Regions from separate parts of the Homo sapiens genome. Here all the other regions are linked to region 1. Evidence: promoter capture Hi-C in 16 types of primary human blood cells and fetal thymus (Javierre and others, 2016). All regions are on one chromosome and are shown on one strand. The core of a region is centred on a gene start or on the middle of the fragment in contact, and the rest is flanking DNA. Distances in the headings are between cores, read along the strand shown.

Region 1 (4,350 bases), core at 1-2,500:
CCTGGGAAGCTTACAGGAGCCCGGTGTCCCGGAGCACAGGCCAGGGCCGGGCCAGAAGCCCATCCGACATCCAGCTGACCCTCACCCTCTGACCCCAGCCCTCAGCGCCATGAGTCGGGGGCAAAGAGTTCTCAAGGGTCTGCTGGGCTGGGTTTGCACTTGGACCTGGGCCTGGAGAGCCAGACTTGGAGCAAGGGGCTGTGGCCTTCATGTCCTGTGCCCCAGAGATCTGCCCCTCCCACCCGAGGTAGGTGGGAATGGGGTTTGGGAAAGGAAAGAGGTTGGGGTTTTGGGATTGGGGGTGGGGTTCTGGAAGGGGACAGCAGGGAGACTTGGGGAGGGGGGAGAGAGTTCACACTGCGGGGTGGGGGTTGGGGGAAGGTAGGAGGCTGGGATCTGTATGCCTGCAGATGCCCCAGCTCTTGGCCAATGCCGCCTCAGGCTGTTATCAGCAACGGGTGCCTGCGTCCTGCTGCCCAGCACGTCCGGTGGTCCAGAGTCACTGGAATGCAGCTTGGGAGGCGGGGCTGGGGACCTTAGCTAAGGGCAGGTCTGGGGCAACATGATATGGCCCACAGGGCTGCTGAGAGGTAACCAGGTGTCCTCAGCATATTCTGCCGATGGTGGGGTCCACACCACACTTTGGGGACCCCTGTGCAGGCAGCCCAGGACCAGGTGGACGTGGGGACCCAGACGGACGTGGGGACCCAGACGGACAGGGCCCGGTAACCTGGATTGTTCTGACTTCCTGGACGTCTTTGCCCCCAGGGTTTCGGTTCTGGGCCTCAGTTTCCCCACCTGTCCTCGACCTGACCCACTTCACGGGGCTGCAGGGCGGGTGATGGGGGGGACCCTACTCTGCCCGGCCCTGCTGGGGCCCGGCCACACCCTAGGGTCTGCAGGAGAGGCGGTGGAGCGGGCTTGCCTTCAGGGAAAAGGGGGCTGCAGGGGCGCAGCTTCGGCCTGTGCGTGTGTCTGGGGTCTGAGGGCGAGGCTCCAGGGGCTTGGTGGCGTCTGAGCGCGTGTGGAGGTCCGGGTCTCTGCGTGTCATCGTGCACGTGTCTGTGCACGCCCACTCGCGTCCGGGAGTGAGAGTCAGCGCCCTGCAGTCGGCCGCCCCGTGCCCGCCAGCGTCAGGCAGGGGCTCCCGGTCCCACCCCGCGAGCGGCGCGGCTCCGAGCTCCCGAAGGCGGAAGCGGGGGGCGCGGCCCGGGGCTGGGGGCGGGGCCTGCGACCTCACCTTCGCGCCCACTCCGCAGAGCCGCAGGCTGAGGCCGGGAAGGGTCGGGGGCGAGGCCGCGTCGCCGCCTCCCCGAAGCCTTTTCCTGTTGGGGGGAGGGCCCGCCAGTGACGGCCGGGCCTGTCACGTGGGCCTGACAGCTGGGGAGGGGGTGGCCGGCGACAATGTGGTCCCGAAGCGGCCAGCGCCGGGAGCTGCAGCGCTGAGACCCCCAGCCCGCCCCCTCGGGCTCCCGGCCGGGGCCCCATCATGTTCTCCAGGAAGAAACGAGAGCTCATGAAAACCCCTTCCATCTCGAAAAAGAACCGCGCGGGAAGCCCCAGCCCGCAGCCCTCGGGGGTGAGTGGAGCCCGGGTGAGACCCGGAGCTGACGCCGGGCCGCAGGGGGACAGGGACCCGCCCTGTGCTCGGGGCTCATGCTGGGGCGGCGGCTGGGGGCTCGTGCCAGCTACAGCCCCTACCGGGCGGGACGGCAGGGGCCACAGCAGAGAGGCCGGGACCCCGGCATTCAGCTCACGGTAGGGACCCTGGGAGTGGTGGCCGCCTCCCTCCACTCCATCCAGGGCTGGCCGCGGGGCCCAGGGAGCAGGAAGGGAGGGTGCCGGGTTGGGACGATGTTGTGTTTGGGCCGCTGCAGGTTGGGGGCTTAGGCAATCTGGGGGCTCTAGGGGCCGTTGAGATGGGAGGGCTGTGGCCTGGCCATTGGGCTGAAGGTTGACCGGGCAGCAGATCCTCTAATGGGATCCACCAGGTTCAGAGGTTGGGGAGTGTCCCCAGGCCTGGGGTGTCTACAAAGCTGGGGGGGGGGTCTACAGAGCTTGGGGGTCCGGGATGTCTACAAGGCCTGGGGCTGCCCATAGGCTCTGGGGTTCCATGGACCTTTAGGGGACAGACAGAGTCAGAAGTGTGTTCACTTAAAGCACCTGCGTTGTAGGAGCCTGAGGGGGGCTTGAAGGGCTGAGGACCCTCCCCACCCCCACCAGGAAGTGGGGACCCCCCTCCCGCGCCTCCCCGCAGGCCCCGCCCCGGCTGTGGTTTGGGCAAGGACCGTTGTTTGTGAAAGCTCTAGGGAAGAGGATGTTGGGTAACAGGTGGGGGGGTACACTACCAAATCTCGGCCCTGTGACCTCTGGCCTTTGACCCCTGTGGGGTCAGGGTGATGGTGGCCCTCCACAGCCCCACTTCATTTCTGGGGAAACTGAGGCCGTGTCCAGGCCGGAAAATCCCTTTAACGAGCTCCCCTCGGACCTGCCCAAGGAGCTGCCCAGGAAGGATGGGGCTGACGCGGTGTTCCCCGGACCAAGCCTGGAGCCGCCCGCTGGGTCCTCCGGCGTCAAGGCCACAGGGACCCTCAAGCGGCCCACCAGCCTGAGCCGCCACGCCAGCGCGGCTGGCTTCCCCCTGTCGGGTGCTGCCTCCTGGACACTGGGCCGGAGCCACCGGAGCCCACTGACAGCCGCCAGCCCGGGCGAGCTGCCCACCGAGGGTGCCGGCCCGGACGTCGTCGAGGACATCTCCCATCTGCTGGCGGACGTGGCCCGCTTCGCTGAGGGCCTTGAGAAACTTAAGGAGTGTGTGTTGCGTGACGGTGAGAGCCACGGGGACACCGAGGCCTGGGTGGAAGACAGAGCCAGACCCAAGGGAGGATGGAGGGAGGGACTTGGGGAGGCTCAGAAGGGAGGGAGGCTCAGATGGCAGGGAGGGCTGTGTGGAAGAGGCCATGACAGCTAAGGCTCTGAGGGATGTGTAGGAGTTTGGTGGGGGAGTCCCTGAGCGTACACTGGCTCAAGAGGGTGCCCACTTTATTTTTTTTAAAGGATCTGATGGCAATTAGGAGGGAAAGGCAGAGGAAATGTCCCATGCACAGGCTCAGAAACACGGAAACAGAGAATGCATTTGGGGGCCAAGGTGTGGGGTGCCGCTGGTGTAGGATGAAGGCATGACAACGCCAGGCAGAAGGGCAATGGGGAGCCATAGAAGGTGTTAGAGCACAGGACAGATGGGGGCAGATCTGTGTCTTGGAATGAAGCAAACTGGGGGTTGGCTGAGGTCTGGGTGGAGAGAGATTCAGGAGGCATGGCGAGGGGCAGGATGGGGTCATCAGGCGGCGGAGGTGCTGGGACCCAGCGGCCTGCAGGCCGGCAGTTCCGTTTTCTCCTCCACGCGGCCGCTGACAGCCCTGCTTCCTGCCGAGTTATTTTCATCTGCTTCCTGTTTGTCCCTGGCAGCCCAGGCGGGCACCTCATGTGCTGCCTTCAGCCCCCGGCTCCTCCCAGAAACCACAGTGCCAGGGTCATGCCAGGCGCTCTGATCTGCTCCCAGCAGCCGCCCATTTTACAGATGACGAAACTAAGTCTCTAGTGAGGCCCTGACCCCTGGCTCACCCAGCCAGGGCAGGGCAGAGCCAGGACTGGACCTCAAGTGGTGGAGTGGCCTCTGCACCTTCAGGGCACTAGTTGGGGAAGGCCCGGTCCCCACTGGGAGGAGTGGGAGCCCCCGGGTTATCTGGTCCCAGGGGCGGGGGCTAGGCTGCTTTCCTGGGGAAACCCTAATCTCGGTTCCTTTCCGATCCTGGCGCTTCCTTGGAGGCCTGGCCTGGGCGGGGCTCAGCTCCCAGGCTCCTGCAGGAGGTCTGAACTGGGCCAGCCAGGGTGGGGCACTTTTTTTTTTTTTTTTTTGATACAGGGTCTTGCTCTGTTGCCCAGGCTGGAGTCCAGTGGTGTGATTGAGGCTCACTGTTACCTTGAACTCCTGGGCTCAAGCCATCCTCCTACCTCTGCCTCCCGAGTACCTGAGACTACAGGCATGAGCCACTGCACCTGATTTATTTTATTTTATTTATTTTATTTGAGATGGTGAGATGGAGTCTCACTCTGTCGCCCAGGCTGGAGTGCAGTGGCGCGATCTCGGCTCATTGCAACCTTCCTCTCTCGGGTTCAAGTGATTCTTCTGCCTCAGGCTCCCGAGTAGCTAGGACTACAGGTGCGTGCCACCACACCTGGCTAATTTTTGTATTTTTAGTAGAGATGGGGTTTCACCATATTGGCCAGGTTGGTCTCAAACCCCTAACCTCGTGATCCGCATGCCTCAGCCTCCCAAAGTGCTGGGAT
Region 2 (4,308 bases), core at 1,505-4,004, 180 kb after region 1:
CAGCCACCAGGCCACAGGAGCAGCCTCTGCCCAGGCCCCCCCTCCCCCCCGCCCCCAGTTCCAGCCCCAGGTCTTCAAGTTCCTGCCAGGCCACCAGGACCCTATAAATAAGACCAAGGGCACAGCTGGGACTTAGCAGGGGCCCAGCGGGAGGAGCTGCTCACTCCGGGGACCTCCCCTGCCCCCACCACCAGGGAGGGTGTGAACCTTGGAGCCAGGCCTCAGGACACCCGAGACACCTGACACTCGGAGGGAACAGCCCGTGCTGGCTGGATGCGTCCTGGAGCAGGAGGCAGTCAGGGTGGGGCCGGGAACCAGGCGGTCAAGGCCCTTCAGTGAGGGCAGCCCCTGGCTTAGTGAGGCAGAACAGAGCACAGGGTTTGTCCCCATCACACCCAGGAACAACCCACTCAACCATGGGGACGCCGAGTATGGGAAATGGTGGGGAAGCGTTTTAGCATGTTTATTCATTTAGACTGGCTCTGGGCATCTGGTCCCCAAAGGGCCACACAGTGGCCCCTGTGAAGCCCAGCAAGTTCCGACAACCCGTGTCCCATTCCACTCCCGACCAGACTGAGGTGATGGTGTCCATTCCACTCCCGACCAGACTGAGGTGACGGTGTCCATTCCACTCCCGACCAGACTGAGGTGACGGTGTCCATTCCACTCCCGACCAGACTGAGGTGACGGTGTGCAGGTGGCAGAGCCACACACGAGAGGCAAGAGGCAGGGAGGGAGGTGGGGGCTGCTGGCCACTCACAGGGGGCCCCAGTGTCCTGCTTGGGCTGCTCATTTGGCACCAGTCCACGGCTCCCTCCGCCACCTTTGTTCTCACTGGAAGCAGAATGAGCCTGGCCCTGTAGTTCCCACCTGGGGCCCCAGCCCTTCATCCAAGCCCCATTCATCGACCCTGCCCCTCCTCCCTCCAACTGGGTCCAGTTCACTAAGCTCCCAGAACTGCTCAAGCCATTCCCACTTCCTGGACCATCGTCTTTTTTTTTTTTTTTTTTTTTTTTTTTTGAGAGGAGTTTCGCTCTTATTGCCCAGGCTGGAGTGCAATGGCACAATCTCAGCTCACCACAATCTCCGTCTCCCGGGTTCGAGCAATGCTCCCGCCTCAGCCTCCCAAGTAGCTGAGATTACAGGCGCACATCACCACGCCTGGCTAATTTTTGTGTTTTTAGTACAGACAGGGTTTCACCATGTTGATCAGGCTGGTCTCGAACTCCTGACCTCGTGATCCGCCCGCCTCGGCCTCCCAAAGTGCCAGGATTACAGGCATGAGCCACCGCGCCCGGCCTTTTTTTTTTTTTTTTTTTTTTTTGAGACGGAATCTCGTTTTGTCGCTCAGGCTGGAGTGCCCTGGCACGATCTGGGTTTATTGTAACCTCCGCCTCCCGCGTTCAAGCGATTCTCCTGCCTCAGCCTCCTGAGTAGCTGGGACTACAGACACATGCCACCATGCCCAGCTAATTTTTGTATTTTTAGTAGAGACAGGGTTTCACCATGTTGGCCAGGCTGGTCTCAATCTCTTGACCTTGTGATCCGCCCGCCTCGGCCTCCCAAAGTGCTGGGATTACAGGCGTGAGCCACCGCGCCCGACCGCATCATCTTTTTTATGTGACAAACTCCTAGTCATTCCTCAAACCGCAGCCCCTGTGACCCCCTTCCAAGGGTTATCCCAGCCTCTCCCTCTCTGGCCTAGCCCTGACCCTTCGGGGCTGGGTGTGCCTGTCAAGGTGGGGGCCACGGCTGCCGGGAGCATGGGTGGCAGCCGGAAGGAGACCTGGGGAGGAGCGCAGCCCTGGGAGGGGCGCCCATGGCCAGGGTGGGGGTGGAGGTGGTCAGGCCAGATAAAGGGAGGGGCCAGATGAGTGGACAGGAGGTGCTCCCGTAGGAATGGGGTCCCCTTCTCTAAATAGAGGGGCAGGACGGGGCCCACCTCAACCAGGACCATCCTCAAAAAGCCGACGGGGAAGGGTGAGATGCACACCACATTCGTGTCTCATTGGCTGTGGCCTCAGTTTCTTCATCTGTAAAATGGGGTAATGCCCACCCCAAAGGCTGGGAACCAGTGCATGTCCTGCATTAATGGGGGGTGATGGCCCCAAAGTGATCCTGCCGCATCCCCTCACCACACTCCCACCCACCCTGGAGAAACTGAGGCTTGGAGAGGCCAGTTACCTCCCGGGGTCACAGCATAGCCGGCTGGTGACTGGCTGGGCACAAGGCAGGCCTGGCACTGGCTAATCGCTCCATAAATGCCCTCTGAGGTCACCATTGACAGATGCAGGAGGCCAGGGCTGGCCAGGGCACCCCCACTCTACGGCAGGTGACTCCAGCCTGTTTTCCTGGACGACAGCCGCTGACTCAGGCCCCTCTTCCCGTCCCCCCCACGCGGGCGCCCCCAGGCGGAAGCACCGGGCCTGGGGCGACAGGAAGGGGGCGGGGCAGCGAGTCGCGCTGTACACCCCAAAACCCTGTCCCGCTGACGATTCGGGGTGCATCTCAGCCCGCGGCGAGGCGGGCCGAGACCCTTGGCTCGGGGCATTCAAGGGGAGTCCCCCCATGAACTGCGCCAAGCCTGGGTCCCGGGTGGCCCAGCCGTCAAGGCGCCCCAGGGCCAGGGCCGGCAGGCAGGGGCGGGGGCCAGTCTGCGTCACCGCCCGCCCGGCCCCCCGCCCCCCTGCCCGCCCTAACTCCACCCCGAGGGAAGGCGGCGCGGATAAAGGCTGAGGGCCGCGCGCTTGGCCCAGACCGGCCCGGCCAGCGCGCATTCGGCCCCGGACGAAGGTACTCGCAGCACTTGGAGCGCAGAACCGGCCGCGCCCGGTGAGTGTGGAGGGGGGGGACCTGCGGGCCGAGGAAGGGTGCCCACTCTAGATGGCTCAGGATGCCCGCACTTTTCTTTGTTCTTGGGACAGGAGGGATCGGGGAGCCTCCGGTCCTGGGAAGCCCCCCGGGGTGCGGGGTGGGAGGGGCTCCGCGCAGCCAGCGCCGCCCTGGCCGGACCTCAGCCCCCGCCCCGCCCCCCGGGGCACTCCCCCTTCACCGCGGGTGACCTTGAACTGGTTGCCGTTCCGCCCTCCGTTGCCCAGCCACACGGTCCCAGTCTCCCGACTACAGTCTTTCGTTCCCGATCGGGGTTCCTCCCCCGCGCGCAGCCCAGTCGTCTTCCTCCCCTGCCAGGGGCAGCGCGGCGCCCCCTCCCCGGGACTCCGGGCGGCGCTCCCAGGCGGGCCCGGCAGAGGGCGCGCCCGAGCTGCTGACTCACCGCATCCCCGAGCGCGCGCGGGCGCAGCCGGGGACGCCGCGTCACGTCACGGCTCGAGCGGGCGCGCCTCGGGGAAACGGGTTCTGCCCGCGGCCGGCGGGTGGGCGCGCGGGGCCCCCGGCGGCAGCCACCCGGCCACGTCACCGAGGTGCGGGCGCCCCGCCCCGGCCACAACTCCGCCCCCACGCACCACGCCCTCCCCGGGGCCGCGGCCCTAGCCTCACCGTCGCCCGCCCGCCCCGGGACCCCGGCCACGAGGCGCGGACTTCGCGCTCCCGCTTCCGCTCGCGGCTTTTCCCGGACGAAGGCGGCGGGGTGGCCCCACGACTTCCTGCCCCTCCCGGCGCCGGGAACAATGGCCCGCGCCCCCTCCCGCTCCCGGCCGCTCCCTTGGGATCGCGAGGGGTACCAGACCCGTCTCCAGACCTGGGTCCCGCGCCCCCCGGGGCGCGCCCGCCCTTTGTTGCGGGCTCCGGGCGCTTATGAATGGCTGCGGGCGCGGGCGGGGCGGGGGCGGGCGCGGAGAGGCGCCAGCCCCGCCCCCGCTGCGCTCCCCTTGGTCGCCTGGGCGCTGGGGGCGGGGCGAGGGGGCGGGCCCGGCTGCCACGTGGGGCGGTGCCGCGGCGGCTCTCATAGGCCCGGGCTCGCGGCCGACTGGGCGCTCGGCGCGCGGCGATTGGCCGGCGCCCGGCCGGCGGAGTAAGTAGTGAATGGGAGGGGGCGGCGGCCCCGCCCCCTGGAACGTTGATACATTATAACTTTTTTTTCTTGTTACTTTCACCCCCAGATCCTCCGAGCGGCGGCGACGGCTGTTGCTAAGGGAGGGGACGCGCGAGGAAGCGCGACCCGGGCGGCAGACGGCACCCAGCGCCACCAGCCGAGCGGCGCCCCCTCCCCAGGACCCTTAACCGCGCCGCGTCCCGGTCGCGCCCGCCGCCCTTTGAAGGAGAAGCAAGTGCCGTCCCCACCCCCGGAAGGCGCCCCCAGGAGCCGGAGCGACCTCGGAGCGCCACTCGGATTTTGGATTTCGGTCT
Region 3 (3,866 bases), core at 387-2,886, 160 kb after region 1:
CGGAGGTCGGCAGTCACGGTGTTGAGCCGCCTCCCGGCCCAGGGCGGCGAACTCGTCTGCGACCGTTAGCGCCCCGCGGCCCCCGCCCGGGCGAGCTCGCGCACGCGCCCGGCACGCGGCGGCTCCATCGGGCCCAGTGGGCTGCGCGACCCTCGGGTGGCGGGCCCTGCGACTAAGCGGCCGCCCCGTCCGGGACTGAGGGCGAGTGATCGTTGTCCTCAGGAGCCCGAAGCTGAGAGCCGTTCACGCCCCTTCCTTCCCGCCCAGCCGGGGTCTCCGCGGCCCGCGCCTCACGACGCCCAGCACCCGGCAAGCACCGGAAAGAGCAGTGCACACTTCGGCGGCGCGAGGGCGGCCGGGGCTCTGCGCCTGCGCCCTGAAGCGGCGAGCGCGCCTCCGTCGCCCGGCGCGTGCGCGAAGGGCCCGCGGTCCCCGCGCATTCGCGTCGGGGCGTCGCGCCCCCACGTCTCTCCCGCCGCCGAGGCCCCGTGCGGCGCCGGAGAAGCTGCCAGAGAGATGGGCCCAGGACGCGGGACTTAGGCCGGGCTGTGGTCGGGGGACGTGGGGGCGGCGGCGACCAACGCGGGAGTCGCCACGACGGGCTCGGCGAGGCGCGGCGGAAAGAGTCTCTCGTCGAGGCCAGCCGCCAGCTTGTCCAGCACCGACCCGGATGGTAGGACGCACAGGCCCGAGCCGGGGCACCCCCCGCCGCCCGGCTCCTCCTCGATGACGGGGATGGCGGGGTCGTCGCCGGCGCCGCCCAGGGTGCGACCGTCGGGCGGGCCGTCCACGCTGTCGCCGCGCCGCAAGGGCGCACGCGCGGGTCGGGCCGCGCCGGCAGGCGGTGCCGGGGTTCCGGCCAGGGCCGGGGCCGCGCGGGCGCCGGGGTCGCTGTGCTGCCGGCCACGCTGCCACTGTTTGCGGGCGTGCGGGTGCGCGCGGGCGCGGTGTCGCGCGGCAGCCGGCGTGTCGTCGAAGTGCGGGTCGTGGCGCAGGAACTCGTGGAACAGCGCGTCCGTCTTCTCGTCGATGCTGTAGTCGCGGCGCGGGCGGCGGGGCCAGGCGCGCGGGCTGCGGGGCCGGGCGGGCGCGGCAGGTGGCTCGGTGTCGTCGCCTGCGCCGCGGCCCTCGATGCTGGCGTAGCCACTGTCCATCTGCAGCAGCCGGCGCGCCTCGCCGTCCTTGGGCCGCGGCGCGGGCGGGGAGGGCGGCGGGAAGGCGGGCGCCGCGCCCCCGGAGCCTGAGCCCGAGCTGTCGCCGCTGCGCACCGAGTCGCGGTCGTTGCCGCTGCTGCTGTGGTCCGAGGCGGCCGCATGCAGCTCAAGCGAGGCGCGCAGGCTCCACAGGTCGCGGTAGCTGGTCTGGGCCTGCTCGGGGCCCGCGTCCCGCTCGGCGTCCGGCTCCAGTGGCGGCTGCTGCTGCTCAGGCCCCGCGCTGCCCGCGCCGCGCTCCGGGGGGGAATCGGGGCTCGCTCCTCCCGCTGCCTCGGCCGCCTCTAGCCTGCAAGCCAGGCCGCGCCGTCAGAGCCCCGCCGAGCCCCGCGCCCCCTACCCGGCCGGCCATCCCGCCTCTGGATCAGGGAGGGTGGACGCGGGTGGGACTTGGGACTCGGGCGGGCCTTGGAAGGTGAGAGCTTTAAAATGAGCCAGTGTGTTTTGCAGGGGATGCGTCTTGCATTGACCCTGAGCTGTGGCGCCTGCTTATTAAGCAGGGTGCCTCCATGCTGGACTGCAGACGGCGGGGCCCCCTCCCTTGGAAGCCCCCAGGAAAAGTCAACATGCTTCTCTCCGGGAGTCACGTTTTCCCAGCCTCCCAGTGGACGTGGGAGCCGCAGGGGATGGACTGGACGCGGTTGAGTCCAGCTCAGCCCCTGCTCCAGGCTAGGGCTCTCTGCCCACCCATGCTGGATAACCAGCAGGAGGACAGTGCACAGACGTGAGGGTCACCCGCCATACCAGGGCTGCCCCAGGAACCCTGCTCTGCCCCAGCCCCACGCCCCATTCCCATCCCACCGACGTGGGCCCTGGGCTTCAGGGAAGTTGCCCTTGGGTTGGGGGAGGGGTGCTGCTGGCCGGAGTGGTCACAGCAGCTTCTGAGAGGAGTCTGCCCAGCCTTGGGAGCATGGGCGGGGCGGGGGTGGGAGAGGGCCTGGGACCACAGCAGAACCCTTCAGGCCTCGGACTCCACCAGCAAGCAGCAGTACCAGCGCCATCCTCGGGGGGCCCCTCCTCCCCACCCACCGCCCTACCCTTACCCAGTCTCTCCCTGCTTCCCTCCTCTGGTCCATGCTGGAGAGGTGGCCCCAGTGAGTCCGCCTCTGGGAGGGGCCTTGCCGCTGGAGGCAGGCGAGCGCGTGTCCACGGGGCCTGGAGAGCGCTCCCTGGGCCGCCTAGGGGGGGGCGAAGGGGGGCAAGGGCCCACAGGTCCACCCCTAGCACCTCCATCTACTGAAAAATACCTGCCGAGAGCAGGGGGCGGGCTGGCCAGAAAGGGGCGGGGGTGCGGGAAGGCCACGGCGTCGCCCGCCCGGGCAATGTACTGGATGAAGTCCTCCTGGGGGGCATCCCCCTCCTCCTGCTCCGTGCTCTCACTGGCTGCCCGCTGCCGCTGGAAGTGGTGCCGCTTGGGGGAACCTGCGCACGGGATGTGCCGTAAGCGTCAGCCGGCATGTGCCTCCACCCGCTCCACACACACACAGAATGCCTATGCCCCCCCGCCACACACACACAATGCCTGTGCCCCCCCGCCACACACAACGCCTGTGGACCCCCACCACACACACACAACGTGTGCCCCCCACACATACAACGCCTGGGCCCCCCCCACACACAGAACGCCTGTGGCCCCCATACACACACATAGAACGCCTGTGCCCCCCACCACAGAACGCCTGTGGCCCCCTCACACACACACGCCTGTGCCCCCCCCACAGAACGCCTGTGCACCCCCCATGCCTGTGCCCCCCCCACAGAATGCCTGTACCCTCCTACACACAGAACACCTGTGGCCCCCACACACACACAACGCGTGTGCCCTGTCTCTGTCTCACACACACAGGAGTGGGCCCTGGCTTGGGCCAGACCCTGGCTGGCATCTCCCCGGGTCAGGTGGGTGCGGACAGTGGCTGTGTGTACACCCTGGAGTACAGGTGAGAAAACTGAGGCACGGAGGGAAGAGGTGCTGGGACCAGAGAGCCTGAGCAGGGCAGGGCCAGGAAGCGAGTGAGTGGAAGGGCCTCTGGCACCGATAGTGCCTTGTGGCAGCCCTGGTCAACATGTGGCCACTCATAAGGGCGTGTCCTGGACACCTGGTGGCCTGCACAGCCTGGCTGAAACTACGGAAGGCATGAGAGAGTCACATACAGGCTGGTGGGGGCCAACGAGGAGAGGGAGAGAGGTGCCCTCTCCTGCCAGCTCCACCCTGGTCTGGAGAGCGCTGGGGGACTGCCCCACCCCTGCCTCGGCCCCCTTCTCCCAACAGCCTCCCCAGCAAAGCTTGAGTGGGCAGGCCCCAGCAAACAGGTTCTGGGATGTGCTGCAACCACATTGGACTCTAAATGTCTCTAGTCACCCCTGGGCCCCATTCATTTCAAGATCTGGATTCTCTCAGCTGGAGCGGGGCAGCCAGAGGAGGCCTTCCCCTCCCTGGCCCCTAGCTACCTTGGGGGTGGGGGCTGGGAGAACTCACCCCACCCCCGCTGGCTGGAGCCACAACACAGGGTCTCCCACTGTCTGATGATGTGTCCTCTGTCATGCTGACAGCACCTTCTCTCTGCACTTGTCCCCTATCCTGGCCTCACCTGACGACAGGACCTGCCACCCTGTCCACAAGGCAGAGCGGGCCCCAGCCCCTCTGGGCTGCCCTGG
Region 4 (4,173 bases), core at 811-3,310, 200 kb after region 1:
CCTCCCCCGCCTTGCAGTCCCTCCCTGGAGCCAGCTGCCTCCTCGGTTGCCAGAGCAGAGAGAGTGGGCTTGGGCCGAGGTCGGAGGTCGAGGAGCGGGCGGGAGCCTGGGAGGGCACCCCCAACCCCTCTGGAATGTGGGTGGAGCGGGGCAAGGGAGACAGCTGGTTTCCACGGAGGGCACATGCCCCATACCCAGGACGCTACCCACACTCAGCCCTGGGGGAGAGCAAGCAAAACCAATGGGTGCCATCCCACGAGGGGCCTGCACAGCCATCCCACACCCCCGACCAGCACGCCCGGGACAGCCCTCCACAGGCCACGCATTTATGGGTGCGGCTGGTGTGCCAGGCTCCCAGATACACAACCCCCCCCCCCAGACACACCCCATATACCTGTCCCCAACCTCAATCCACTGTGTGACCCTAAAACAAACAGAACCTCCTTGCTCAGCCTGGGCCAAGGCCTCCCCAAACAAAACTCCAGCCTGCAGAGTCCCACCACACACCGCAGCTGTCACCAGATACAAAGAGGGCCCTGACCAGATACAGAGAGGGCAGCAGCCTTCCCCCACAACCAACACACGCCTGGGCGGGGGCAGGAACACCCCCAGGGCCTCCAGCCACAGACACTCACCCACTCACCCCTCTGTGCACCAGTGATCCTCCGCTGCCCAGCCAAGCTTGACTCCAGCCTGCTGGAGTCTGGGTGGGGGATGGAGAGGGGTTCCCAGGCGAGCCCCAACCTATGCCTTCCAAAAGTCTTTCTGTGCATGTTGGAAATACAAATGAAACAGGAGAGTTAGCATACGGGACAATTATTATTTTTGTTTGTTTTTGTTTTGAGACGGAGTCTCGCTCTGTCGCCCTGGCTGGAGTGCATTGGCGCGATCTCGGCTCACCGCAACCTCTGCCTCCCGGGTTCAAGTGATTCTCCTGCCTCAGCCTCTGGAGTAGCTGGGATTACAGGCGCCCGCCACCACGCCCGGCTAATTTTTGTATTTTTTTAGTAGAGACGGGCTTTCCCCATGTTGGCCAGGCAGGTCTCGAACTCCTGATCTCAAGTGATCTGCCTGTCTCGGCCTCCTAAAGTGCTGGGATTACAGGCGTGAGCTACAGCATCCAGCCCAATTTTATTTATTTTTAGTAGAGAAGGGATTTCACCATGTTGGTCAGGCTGGTCTCAAACTCCTGCCCTCAAATGATCCACCCGCATTGGCCTCCCAAATTGCTGGGATTACAGGTGTGAGCCACCACACCTGGCCCCAGTTATTAGTATTTTCGAGACGGGGTCTCACTCTCTTTCCAGGCTGGAACGCAGTGGCTCCATCACAGCTCACTGCAGCCTCGCTGGAACTCCTGGGCTCAAGCGATCCTCCTGCCTCAGCCTCCTGAGTAGCTGGGACTACAGGTGAGCACCACCATGCCCAGCTAATTTTGCTTTTTTTTTTTTTTTGTAGAGACAGGGTCTAGCTATGTTGCCCCGGCTGGTATCAAACTCCTGGACTCAAACGAAAGTGCTGGGATTCCAGGCATGAGCCAGCGCTCCCGGCCTGCATACGGGATGATTCCATGTGGACTGCCACATCAAGGAAGCAAACAACAAGGAAAGCCTGGCGCTGCGTGGAGCTGTCTTTTGCTGCTAACTGCCCTTGACCGACTTCCTACCAGGTCTTCCCTGTGCGCCTCTAACCCCAGGAGGTGCTGCTGGCATGCCCACCTCTCAGATGAAGCAGTGCGGTCCAGAGAGCGTCTTGGGCACCGCCTGCCTCACAGCTGGGCCCCTGACCCTCCAGGGACTGTGGCTGAGCAGCCATGGCTGCCTGGACGGGTGTCCCCTGGCCCGTCTGTCCGTCTGGATGTGGGAACCCTCCAGGCACGCTGGGGCGGGCAGGTGCCAGGTGCCTCTCCAGCAAGATGCAACATAGGTGTCTTCACTTGCACTCCGTAGGTCCTGAGCCCCTGCAGCTGCCTGGGAGAGTGGGGAAATACTCTCCACTTGTCCCACTCCACTGTTGCCATGGAGATACCTCCCACCCTAGGCAGGGCCACCCTGAGCCTGGTTGGCTTTGCAGGAAATCCCCACTCTTTGACCTCTCTGTTAGGCACAGGACGTGTAGTCCCATGAGAGGGAACTGGGCCCAGGTGGAGATCCATCCGCCTACCCCAGAGCGCGCATCTGTTGCTAAGCAACATCTGAGGCTGCATGGAGGTGGGGGCTCCGGAGCCCCCAGACCTTTTCCCAGTTTCAGAAACTAGGTGGCTGCATCCCCAGCGTCCACGCAGGCGAGCCTAAGCCTCGGTCAGCTTTAGGGTGTCCGTGGGCCATGCAGGGTCTTGGGCCTTTCACAGACACCTGATCTGCACGTCACAGACACGCATGGGTGCACGTCACTACACGTCCGCCACATGTGCTTGGCTGGTCTGCGCCCCAGCAGAAGGGGTCACCTATGTCTCTGCAGTATCCTGTGTACTGAAAGAGCAAACAGGTGTGTGACCCCAGGGCAGGTCGGGGTCCGTCCTGTCCCCAGCCTGTCTACTGCGTGTGCCTGTGGCAGGCAGGGTCTCCGGATGCCGAGTGCATGGTGTATGACTTTGTGTCCAGTGGGTACGAAGCAGGGGTGTGGGTGTGCACCTGTGTGTGGCCTGTGGCGGGGTGTGTGTGCCGGGGATGTCCCTCTGTGGCCCAGGCCTGGCCTTTGGGCTGCTGGGATGGCCTGGCCGGGGCAGGAGTAGACAGGGCCTCCCAGCCTCCACATTCCTGAGCTGTGACTCAGGCCTGTGGGGAGGGGGTGAGTCACAGGGAAGGGAAGCCGACCCACCCTGCGAACGCATCCGAGGAACAGGAGGGAAACTGAGGCTGGGGAGCAGCTCAGTCCGGCTTTCCTGTGTAGCAGCCCCTGAATCTCAGGCCCGGGGGTGGGGCGGGGTGGCGGGGGGGGGCGCGCGGGGCCTCCCAGGGGACCTGAGATCCCAGCCCTGGACTCAGCTGGGAGCTGGGGGAAGAGGCAGGTTTAACCCTTCCTCTTCTGGGCTTCTGGAACTCTGGGCTGCCCTGGGAGGCGCGGCTCCCGCTGACACAGCACGCGTGCCCACCCCAGGGACATGAGTCACAGCACCAGGCATGGACACATATGCTCTGTGGGTCCCGGCACACCCGAGTCACGCACACCCAGCCCTGTCCCCGGCTGCCCCCACATCCACATCCGGATAAGCGCACACTTTGGAGTCCAAGCGCCCACCTCCTTGGGTTGCACACACAGCGCCACGCAGACGGGTTCCTGTGTCTTTGCACACACGCGGGTGCCGGGGGCTCTGTGCACACACCTCCAAGACTGCGTGCACGCCCCTATATGCCCTGCGCACCGACGCAGGCCGGCCTGGGGTCCCTGCACTCACCACGCCGTGTGCACTCGCACATAGCTACACATTCGTGTCCACACAAGCTTGTGTCTCTGTACTCTGCCCACGGGCACACATGTGCGCCACACCTGGCAACCCGCACGCCCGGTCTCTGCATCCCCCACCCTGGCTCTGGGCCCCGCGTAGTGGGGCCAGCTGGGTCGGCTGCAGCCTCTGCCAGGACGGTCCTATTTCTGCGCCCCCGCGGGGCGGCCGCCAGGTGCACGGTCCCGGCCCCCGCCTGGCTAGGAGGAGGCGGTAATTATGCGGCCCCGGGGTCCCCCCCACGCGCCTTTCATCCTCGGCCACGCCCGTCGCAGGCCTAGACGCTCTCTACCGCCTCCCGCCCGGTCATTAGTCGGGGTCGGGGGAGGACCTGGCGTCCGGCGGGCGGGGCCCCGTGGGGAGGGCGGAGTGGGCGGTGCGGGAGCGAGGGAGCTCCGCCCTCGTCTCCATGGCGACGCCCCGCAGGGGAGGAGGCCCGGGAGGAGTATCAGGGTGCAGGAGGTGCGCGCCCCTTCCGAGACGGCAGGCTGGAAAGGGGGCGGATTTGTGAATGGGCCCACGGGGCCCAAGACAGACGCGCGGGGAGCAGGTTCGGGGACTCTGACTGATCCCCGCGCCTCGCCGGGCAGGGGCGAGCCCCGCGCGTCGGGCCCGGAATAGCAGTCTCGCCCCCGCCCGGCGCGGCTATTTTGAGCTCCTCCGTTGGGGCCGAGGCGCGGGGGCGGCGGGAGGCTGGGGGTCGACACGCAGGCTGCGTCCTCGCCCCG

Evidence for each region. The method cuts DNA at HindIII sites, captures the fragments that hold promoters and counts their contacts. A CHiCAGO score of 5 or more calls a contact.
Region 2: the fragment with the promoter of MIDN here is called in contact with the fragment with the promoter of ARHGAP45 in region 1 in 11 of 17 cell types (monocytes, neutrophils, non-activated CD4 T cells and 8 more); the score reaches 9.6 in monocytes.
Region 3: a fragment that was not itself captured here is called in contact with the fragment with the promoter of ARHGAP45 in region 1 in 7 of 17 cell types (monocytes, neutrophils, endothelial precursors and 4 more); the score reaches 10.2 in monocytes.
Region 4: a fragment that was not itself captured here is called in contact with the fragment with the promoter of ARHGAP45 in region 1 in 16 of 17 cell types (naive CD4 T cells, non-activated CD4 T cells, total CD8 T cells and 13 more); the score reaches 21.3 in naive CD4 T cells.

Annotation. Positions count from the first base shown.
Region 1 is chr19:1,065,917-1,070,266 of GRCh38, forward strand. ARHGAP45 (Rho GTPase activating protein 45) reads left to right here and starts at 1,251. Exons shown (of 23, transcript NM_012292.5): 1 at 1,251-1,579; 2 at 2,498-2,828. The coding sequence starts at 1,490. RefSeq lists enhancers at 694-1,200, 3,391-3,550 and silencers at 1,061-1,820, 2,131-2,370, 2,901-3,000. The HindIII fragment of the contact is 10,211 bases long and covers 8-4,350 here.
Region 2 is chr19:1,245,829-1,250,136 of GRCh38, forward strand. It overlaps MIDN (midnolin), which reads left to right and starts at 2,755. Exons shown (of 9, transcript NM_001388306.1): 1 at 2,755-2,832; 2 at 4,062-4,308. LOC102723811 (a long non-coding RNA gene) reads right to left here and starts at 2,244. Exons shown (of 2, transcript XR_007067082.1): 1 at 2,185-2,244; 2 at 440-2,033. RefSeq lists enhancers at 151-896, 2,832-3,365 and silencers at 2,209-2,748, 2,839-3,298, 3,359-3,478, 3,509-3,978, 4,159-4,208 and 1 more. The HindIII fragment of the contact is 31,339 bases long and covers 1-4,308 here.
Region 3 is chr19:1,228,643-1,232,508 of GRCh38, forward strand. It overlaps CBARP (CACN subunit beta associated regulatory protein), which reads right to left. Exons shown (of 10, transcript NM_001393918.1): 9 at 2,459-2,633; 10 at 1-1,500. The coding sequence ends at 537. Among named protein-coding and RNA genes, the nearest start is that of CBARP-DT, 7.4 kb to the right of the region's middle. The HindIII fragment of the contact is 3,711 bases long and covers 1-3,492 here.
Region 4 is chr19:1,262,795-1,266,967 of GRCh38, forward strand. LOC105372236 (a long non-coding RNA gene) reads right to left here and starts at 3,747. Exons shown (of 3, transcript XR_936233.3): 1 at 1,719-3,747; 2 at 636-765. It also overlaps LOC107985303. RefSeq lists enhancers at 617-706, 747-796 and a silencer at 3,525-4,173. The HindIII fragment of the contact is 2,763 bases long and covers 680-3,442 here.